Regions from separate parts of the Homo sapiens genome. Here region 2 is linked to region 1. Evidence: promoter capture Hi-C in 16 types of primary human blood cells and fetal thymus (Javierre and others, 2016). All regions are on one chromosome and are shown on one strand. Each heading gives the region's core, a stretch centred on a gene start or on the middle of the fragment in contact. The rest is flanking DNA. Distances are from core to core; before and after follow the strand shown. Region 1 holds the start of RADX (RPA1 related single stranded DNA binding protein, X-linked). Region 2 has its middle 110 kb from the start of RADX.

The links. The method cuts DNA at HindIII sites, captures the fragments that hold promoters and counts their contacts. A CHiCAGO score of 5 or more calls a contact.
Region 2: a fragment that was not itself captured here is called in contact with the fragment with the promoter of RADX in region 1 in 1 of 17 cell types (naive CD4 T cells); the score reaches 5.1 in naive CD4 T cells.

The regions. Positions count from the first base shown.
Region 1 is chrX:106,609,692-106,614,315 of GRCh38, forward strand. RADX (RPA1 related single stranded DNA binding protein, X-linked) reads left to right here and starts at 2,287. Exons shown (of 14, transcript NM_018015.6): 1 at 2,287-3,032. The coding sequence starts at 2,390. RefSeq lists enhancers at 2,282-2,471, 2,512-2,851. The HindIII fragment of the contact is 18,100 bases long and covers 1-4,624 here.
Region 2 is chrX:106,501,723-106,506,346 of GRCh38, forward strand. No RefSeq gene overlaps it. Among named protein-coding and RNA genes, the nearest start is that of RADX, 110 kb to the right of the region's middle. The HindIII fragment of the contact is 6,045 bases long and covers 1-4,624 here.

The DNA.
Region 1 (4,624 bases), core at 1,037-3,536:
AGCATATATAGTTTAGGGGCTGCTGATGGAATAGATTTGAAATATTTCAAACACATTCTCCTTTGATAAACAACAGAGATAGTCGACATTTAATGACCCCTACAGTAAATGCAATACAAATCCATAATTTCATTTATTCATTCAACAAAACTATTGAGTACCTACTATATGCTAGATACTTATTTTGCCACTGGAGATTCTGCAGTTTACATAACAAAGTACCTACACTCAGGCAACTTATTTTATGTTTGGTAAATTTGGATTTTTGTATATTGCATTTGTTTGTTTATGGAAAGCCACACTTGTATATTCCCTTTGGTAGAGAGGCACTGGGAATTATATGTTTTACTTATTTAAAATATTTGAGTGCCTTTTATGCATAGCAGTAGTGAAAGAACAAATCAGTTTCTGCTTTCGAAAAGTTTAAGATCTAGTTAATGCAGATCATAATCGGGTGTTCCAACTTGTAGCGACTTTGCTACCCCAGGGGACATTTGGCAATGTCTGGAGATATTTCTGGTTCTCACAACTGGAGGGGGAGGTGCTACAGGTATCTAATGGGTAGAGGCCAGAGATGCTGCTAAGCATCCTACAGTGCACAAGACAGCCCACAACAAAAAACTTTCTGGCCCAAAGAATCAAGAGTGCCCATGTTGAGAAACTCTGAGTTACGCATACATTAAGTTTTTTTTTTTTAACTGCAAGTATTAGATGATAAGTATCAAATGAGTGATACAAGGTGATACAGAGAAGAGAAAGATTATCCTAGACTGAATTGGTGAGGGGAGGCATCATGAAGGAAGTGGGGTTCAAGACTAAGTGTCATGTCACTCCTTTGCTCATAATAGAAGAAACCCTGCTACCTCTCTGACCTCACCTCCTACCACTCTCCCCCTCGCCCCTCCACTGCGGCTGATTGGCTTATGCATTTCCTTGAAAATATCAAGTATGCTTCTGTCTCATGGAATTTATTCTTCTTGTTTTCTCTGATTCAAGTGCCATTCCCCTAGATATCCACATAGCTCACTTCCTCACTTCCTGCACATCTCTGTTCTGTTCAGTCTCTTACTAGAGAACCTTTCTGTAATCATACTTTTTATAAAATATTAACTCCTGTTCCCTCCACTTTATTTCCCCTTACTATGTTTTTTGGTCTCCCTAGCAAGGCTATACCCTGCCCAGACCAGACACTCAAGAAATCTGTATAGAATGAGTAAATTAGTTAAGTATTAATAACGGCAGGGCTCTTTAGCCCAAGCAATGAGAAGAAACTTGAGGGAAGGACCCTGACTACAGTTATCCCCAGTGGCCTAAAACAGTGCCTACCTCATATAGAGACTTCATAAATAGTGAATAAAGAATGATAAAATAGAGAGCCAAAGGAAATTAGTATAAACAAAATCAGCTCATAACCATCTTAAAAAGTATTCTTAGAACAATTACTCCCTTCTATGTATACTGGATCTAAGTACATCTATTAAATATTTTATCCTTAATTTTTACTATTCTTATCAGCTTTTTCACTTTACATTCGTTCCTGATATATGCCTTGCATTAAACAAACAAACATTAAACAAAGTTTCTGAAATCTCTACCCTAGATGTATATTAGGCCAGGTATTATATTAAAACTAGCTGCATTTTAAGAAGTCTAATCTAAAGGCAGCCCTTTACAAGCCAGTTCTAGTTTTCTATTTTCATTTGCACTTAAACACTAATTCACCCACCCTACACTCAGGGAGCCACTACAGATAATTATGCTAATGCTAATCGCAATAGCAGCTAATGTTTACTGAGGACTTTTTGTGCTAGAGTCTGTCCTGGAGGCTCTGCATAAATTATCTGGTTTTGTTCATACTACAGGAAACCCATGTTATAACATTAACATATGTTAACCAACTCTAAATTACTTTCTGTTCCTGGCCCAAAGCCCAAACCCCCAAATCCCTGAGCTTTGACTCTGCACCCTGATTCTTGCCACTTTCTCTTTTCCCTTGCCTCTAGGCATCCTCCTTTCCAGGGGACCACAAGCGCTCTCCCCCTCCCTCTTTGAGAACCATGACAACCACCGATTCCCCCTCCCCTTCCCCTGTCATCCCTCCCCCAGACGGCAACCCGGCGGGCACAAGGTCGGACGACCTGCTACGTAACTCGCGCGTGTGACTGCCTAGTAACAGTGTCTCGAGTCGGAAGCGCTCGGAGCGAGGGGCGGGGTGGGAGAGCTGGCGCGCGCACGCGTAAAGTCTTTGCAGCCTCGCTACGGGGCGGAGTCTTGCCTGTCAGCAGGGGCAGAGTAGCGATCGTCGCCAAAGCGCGCGGTTTTATTTCTCTCCGCTTTGGACGGGGCAAACTAGCTTTTGGGAGTGAAGCGGGTACGCAGTTATCCAACAATGTCTGGTGAGTCAGGACAGCCTGAGGCTGGTCCCTCACATGCAGGGCTAGATTGGCCGAACCCTGAGAGGAATCGGGCTGGGGTCCCGGGAGGGGTGATCCGAAGAGCTGGTTCCCAAGGGCCCAGGTCCTGGATCCAAAAGGTTCTTGAGCAGATTATGGACTCACCTCGCCAGTGTGTCACCCCCTCGGAGGTGGTGCCTGTAACTGTGCTGGCCGTCCAGAGGTACCTGTTAGAGGATGAGCCACGCGACACGGTGCCCAAGCCTCCCCTTTATTGCTATGATGTGACGATCTCAGATGGGGTGTACCAGGAGAAGTGCTACCTGGACCCCAGCTTGAACTCTCTCGTATATCAAAATATTCTTAAAGTTGGCATTCAAATGAGAATTTCCAGGGTCTCATGTCTTTACAATGAGAAAAGGATAGGCCAGGGGATCCTGTGCATAGATAACGTCCACTGTGGGGAGACTTCAGACAGTATTTCTTTAGAAACTCCCTTCAGAAATAGAGCGCACCAGGAGAAACCAGAGAGGCCTTTAAGAGGCGGGAAGAGTCATTACCTGGCGCTGTGGAATAACGAAGATCCCTATGGAGATATCTGGTTAACAGACAAGCAACCTGAGGAACACAACTTTAGCGGTAAGTGTTTGGAAAGAACGGCAGAGGGTTTTAAAAAAAATAGTTTTCAGGAGCTTGCGTGAACGGGAAAGGAAATGAAAATGCTTTTGTATTGTTAATTACAAGCCAGGAGTGGTAGGTAGACAAGTTTTCTTAAATGACCAAGGGATGCTCAATGAAATTTGCACAGCCAGTGGTTTTTGTTGGTGTTTTTTGTTTGTTTGTTTCTTTGATTGCAAAAGTGGCCAATTCAGGAAGTGTGTTTGACTACATCTTAAAATTCAGTCTGGCAAACGTACTGATGTGGGAGTCAGTATTCCTCATACGTTCGTTACATGTTTGATTGTGGTGGAATTAATCTTAGTTTTATTCCCAATCCAGTTGTGGAAATAGTACGTTGTGTCGGTTGAAGAGCTTATAGATTTGAATTTAGCATAAAGGTTGTAAAAATTTGCGGGTTTGCATGTTTTAATCTTCATTCAAAAAGGATGCTCCGTGATGTATTCCTTAATACTTTACATTGATTGAAACGCCGTGTAACAGTTATGTAAATATCACCTTTTAACGGTGTGATTTTTATGGGAAGGCTTGACATTCTCATTTTCTTGTTTCTTATTACTCACCACAAAGAGTACTGATCTGGGAACTTCAATTTTTCTGTATCAGAAGTAGGAAGTTAGCTTGAAAACACTAGCTTGCCATCAGCAACTGCTCTAAAATACGTTTTTTTTCTCTAACAGATGAAATTAAGGGGAATGATAGTACTGTAGGCATGAACACGTTTGAAATGGGGAAAGAAATAAAATGCAAAAAATAAAATAAGAGAAAGTACTGGAAGGAGAAAGACTATAATTTTCTACATTACTGCTTTTCAGTCCCTTTTACAATGTTGTCACAATGCTAAATCACGGATAATCTTACTGTGACGTGTAAGAGCAACAAACTTGAAAGTAAAAGAATAACTAGCTCAAAAACCATGCAATTATAGTCACATCCAGTTGTAAGGAAAAAAGATGTTATAGAAATGTGTAGGTAAGGATATTTTAAATAACTAAATTTTAAAAAGCAAGATAGCTATTTCAGGGATGAAAAAATGGAGTGATTTTATCTCAAGTGTGAAATAAGGCAGTAGTGCATTACTACTCTAAATGTTGATCACTTTAATTTTTAGAATTGAATATGTAAATGAAAAACTGGTGCCCTACAAGAAAAGTTGAGGGGATTAATACTTTGTAAAATGTATTTTGTCGTAATATCTATTCATTCATTAAAACCATATTTATAATACAAAAGGCAATGTCTGTATGCCAAAATAAAACCCAATCTGTATATTTGAAAGTATATTGTGTTAGAAATATACCACCAAAGTATAGTAAAATGTTAGTGATAAAATCTAGGAAGTGGGCATATTGATGTTCACTGTAAAATTTATTCAGTTTTGCTATATGTTTCAAATTGTTAATAATAAAATATTAGGGAGAAGTGAAAGACCTCTTTCACCTTCCCTAGTGCCTTCACCTTTCTTCTAAAAATCTCAAATTGTCAGCAGTTTGTTGTGTATTTTTTTAAAAAAAAGGAATTAATGTCGCATTGTGTGATTTGCTATTTCCACT
Region 2 (4,624 bases), core at 675-3,174, 110 kb before region 1:
GGGACATGGTGAAAAGGGCTATGAGATGTGTAATTGCAGTTCCAGAAGGAGAGAAGCCGAAGAATGGATAAAATAAATATTGAACACGAAAATAGCAAAGAATATTGTAAAAATAATAAAAGATATAAAGCCATACATCAAGTCGTGCTACAAATCCCAAGCAGAATGCATGTAAAGAAATCACACATAGGTGCATTACAATGGAATTACTGAAAAAGGAAAATATTAAAAAACCAAGTCCACAGAAGATATTTAAATGGAATTTACAACAGGAAATTGGTTAAAATAGGTGTTCAGAGTGCCAGAAATAACTACCAATCCAAGGCCTGGGAAAGCAATTAGGATATTTGGGTAAGACTTGGACCCAGACCTCTGATAAAATGGGCTGCCCAATTAGAGATGGCACTGAAACAGCTTGGAGAAAGAGCCCCTACCGAATTGGAACATTTACATTTAAATCAGGGGAGTTGCTTAACTGGTACTGAAGTCTCAGGTTCTTGAAGGAGGAGTCCTTCTGAAGTGAAAGCCACCATAATAACAATAGTTCTTCATATTTAGAGAGAAACTATGAAATTGGCCCTCCTGTTCCTACTAAATCCACATGGCCCTGCCCAGGTAGATGTCTTTTGTGAGGGTGACAAAAAGAAACAGGAAGCAGAGAGAAGAAGAAGCAACTTTGTTCTCCCTCCTTCAGACTTCCTGTCTCCCTTTGTTGTCCTAGTCAGTCTAACAGGAAGTAAAGGAGAAAAAGGGTTGGTAGAACCTCTGCCTCAGAATACTGTCAAAGGAAAATGAAAACTTGGGACCCTAATTTCACTGTGCCAAAAGAAAAGAATTAAGCTAAAAGCTGAGTCATGCAAGAAGCCGCCTTTCCTTTTGTTCCTAAGCAGATAGCTACAAATAAAAAGTTAAATATCTCCACAGGTAGCTACTCTGTGTTCACCTTATTTTATGTAAAATGCCAATTTACTGAGCATGAGACCAGAACATAATTGACTCCTTCCTTACTTGCTCCTTTTCTCTTGCAGCATGTGGATTCAGTAATGTGACCGTACTCTCCCTTTTTCCCCTCCAGCCTGCTTTTCCCCTTTAAACACTGAAGCCCTGAGAATCATCTTTGGGGAAAGGCACAGACCTGTCTCCCAGGTGCATGTCCTTAACCTTGGCAAAATAAACTTCTAAATTGATTAAGATCTGTCTCAGATACTTTACGGTTTACAAATTGGTAACCACAAAGGGAGGGATTCTGAGTGGAAGTGCTTCTGACCTGACAGCTTGGGCTTGACCTCTAGACAGCTTGAGCTGTCTTTATTGCTCAAACCAATAGGATGATTTGCTGAGGCCTGGGAGCTCCCCACTCCAGAGAATCCCTGATATCCCAAAATTTGGCTGAGATCTAGGTTTATTTTGCTGTACATCTCCTTTTCTAGAGTTTTACTCACTTCCAACAGGGAAGGCAAGTTTGAGTATTTTCCTTCTTCTAGGATGGTACAAAGAAATCTTTAGCCTGGGCCCCAGTTCCTAGGTAAGTATCTAAATTGGGGTTTTGTCTTGGAAATTCTTTTTAATGACTAAAGTTAAGATTAACAACCGGCTGGTCTTAATTTCTCCTTACCATTAGAGTGCTGAGTAATTATATAAAATGTGTAGCTGTTTGTTTTGCTTAACTGGCTTTTTTTTTTTTTTTTTTTTTGCTTATTTGTTTGTTTCTGTTTTTGTTACTGTTTCAGTCTTTCTCCCATTGGGTTTTGACCAATTCTACCTGACTTGATCAAATCTAAAGTTCAAAATTATGGGGAACAAGGACTCTGAATTGGCTAAATTCCTGTAACTGGAAAAAAAAAAAAAAGGAAAAAGATAAAATGACAAGAAAAAGGAAAAAAAAAAAACTTTTGACTACCCTGAGGGGTTTTATTTACATAGCTTGGCACTTTTTGCCAGCCAAGCCAAAATGAAAGAGCAATGGTTGTCATCCACCCTGTAGTTCAGTAGCTAAGGTTCTGCCCCCTTTTTTGTTCACCACAATAGCCTGGGTTTTATTGCTAAATCAAGTCCCTTCCAGTTTAATATTTGTGTTACTTTTGAAATAGCAATTTGTCCCAGCTAAAATATGGTGAGATTTAAAAGGATTTTTTTCAGAGCTCAATGGTTAAAAGTCAGCTTTATTAAAAGCTAATATCCAAGGGGTGTGTGTGTGTGTGTGTGTGTGTGTATGTGTAAGGTCTTTATGGTTTTTTTTTTCTCTCACAGGATCTTGATTTCTGAGAACAAGATTTCTTTCTTTTCCATCAACTGAATTTAGTTTTCTCCATTTACTTTTGCCTGTTTCTCCTTTCTCTTGCCACCCTCTGCTGCATAAGAGACCTAAAATAATTTCTAACAGACCGAGATTCCTTATAGAAAACAGAGAAGGCACCAGGCTCCCTTTTTGGTGAGAAACTTCTGTTTCTCCTTACGGAACCCCAAGAGTGTAGAGACAAGTTCCTCTCAGATCTTAAACTGCTTACTTGTGTATTGTGTTACCTGATTTTTTTTTAACTGAAATAGCTATTAGAACAAACACTACTCGAGTGTGTAAGATAAAAAAGGGTGTGGTTTAGATACTTAGAGAAATATGTTTGTAACTAAGTGCATTGTAAAAGTATTATGTGGCCAAGTCCCATGACATTTTTTTCTTTTTGGAGACACAGGATTCAGTGTAGGCTCTGCCCAGAGCTCAGAAATTCAGTTAAAAGATAGCTACTAAATTTAAAACTACCTGTCTGAATAAAATTGACCTCCTTATAAAATCCTGTGATAGATTTCTATAACTTTATGTTTGACATGGCATGCATTTTTAATCACCCTCTCTCATACCAGACTCTCTCTCTCTCTCTCTCTTAATCCCTCTCTGTCTCTATCTTAATCTCTCTCTCTCTGTCTCTATCTCTCTCTCCTGGCCACTTTGAGATGTAAATTTCCCTATCTGATTTTCACCTGAGTTGTTCCTTTGATATACAATTTTAGGGCTATGTAGCTGACACTTGCCTAGGGTAATGAAACAGGTTATCAAGAAATCGGAAGTCTAAAATAGGGAAAAAAGAGGTCTTATGAATCTATAAGATCTACTATCTGTGTGTCTAATACATCTATGAATTTATGTGTCAAGTATATAACGTTTCACTATCAAAAGTATATAAAAGAGCTCTAACTGATTGGCTTGAAGGAAAATAAAGTGCTTAAATAAAATACTTTATCATAAAAATAGAAACTTTAAGCTCGAGCGTGTATTCAAGTTCACGAGTTAAGTAAACCCTTAATAAATAAGCTGGTTTTAAAATTATTAGTAAAATAAAATTAGAAATGTCTTCAGAATCGTCAACATACATTTTGTTTAAATTTATTGGTCAAGCGGTTTAATATTTATCTCTGCTAGGTATTATAAGGTGTCAAAATTTGGCATGAGGGTTATAATGCTTGCAACTCCCAAAAGAATTACCTTTGGTTGTGTAATTTTTTGATAAATAAGGCATTTAATATTGTGCATTTAACAAAAACAGCTAAATCCTGGGTTGTTGGCCAAAAAAAAGAACATTTATTTAACCATAAGGTTCTTACTTAGGTAAACACCTGAAATTCACAGGCTATAAAAATGGTTAACAGGGAAGTAATTTTAAATGATGACTATCACAGTTTTCACAAGTAATCTAGGTAAGCTATTTAAAAAATTAATTAGGGCAATGGAAGAAATGGTTGTAAATAAAAGTACTATATAAGTTAGAATCAAAAGTCATATAAAATTAAATAATAGATATCCATTAAATGTCTGGGTTATTTCCAATTTATCTTTAAAGATTTTGTTATAGGAAAACATTTTTCTAAAAAAAGTTTATATTTAAGGAAAAATAATTTTTGTCTAATTCAAAGAACACTTAAAGGCGATTTCTGAAACAGGGTAAAAGGAAGCAGTAAATAAGAGCAATGTAAAGAAATGTGTAAATATAAAGAGGTATTTTTGGTGAGAAAGGTTAAAAGGAAAATAATTTTAATTGAGAAAGAATCTTGGGCTGAGCACAGTGGCTGGCTCATGCCTGTAATTCCAGCGCTTTGGGAGGCGGAGGAGGGTGGATTACTTGAGCTCAATAGTTCGAGACCAGCCTGGACAACACAGCGAAATGCCATTTCTACAAAAAATACAAAAATTAGCCGAGTGTGGTGACAGGCATCTGAAGTCCCAGCTACCCAGGAGGCTGAGGTGGGAGGATAGCTTAAGCCCAGGAGGCAGAGGTTGCAGTGAGCTGAGATTATGCCACTGCACTCCAGCCTGGGTGACAGAGCCTGACCCCACCTCAGTTAAAAAAAAAAAAACAACACTCTTCCTGTGTCTAATTAATTCAATTCAAGTACTCTTTTCATTAGTTTTAACCTACAGATTATCTAAATAAACTCCCGCTAGGGAAAAGCAGTCACACTGCAGAAGGTCTTTTCTTTTGACTTTTGGTAACTGGCCTAACAAACAGACTTTAAGTTTTATTGAAATAATTCCTGTGCCATTGTTATTAAGTTTTGATTTACATAGAAAAACTGAGATTACTTTTTAAAATTAAGGTTATTACATCTATATAACTTTCTGCATTGCTTTCAA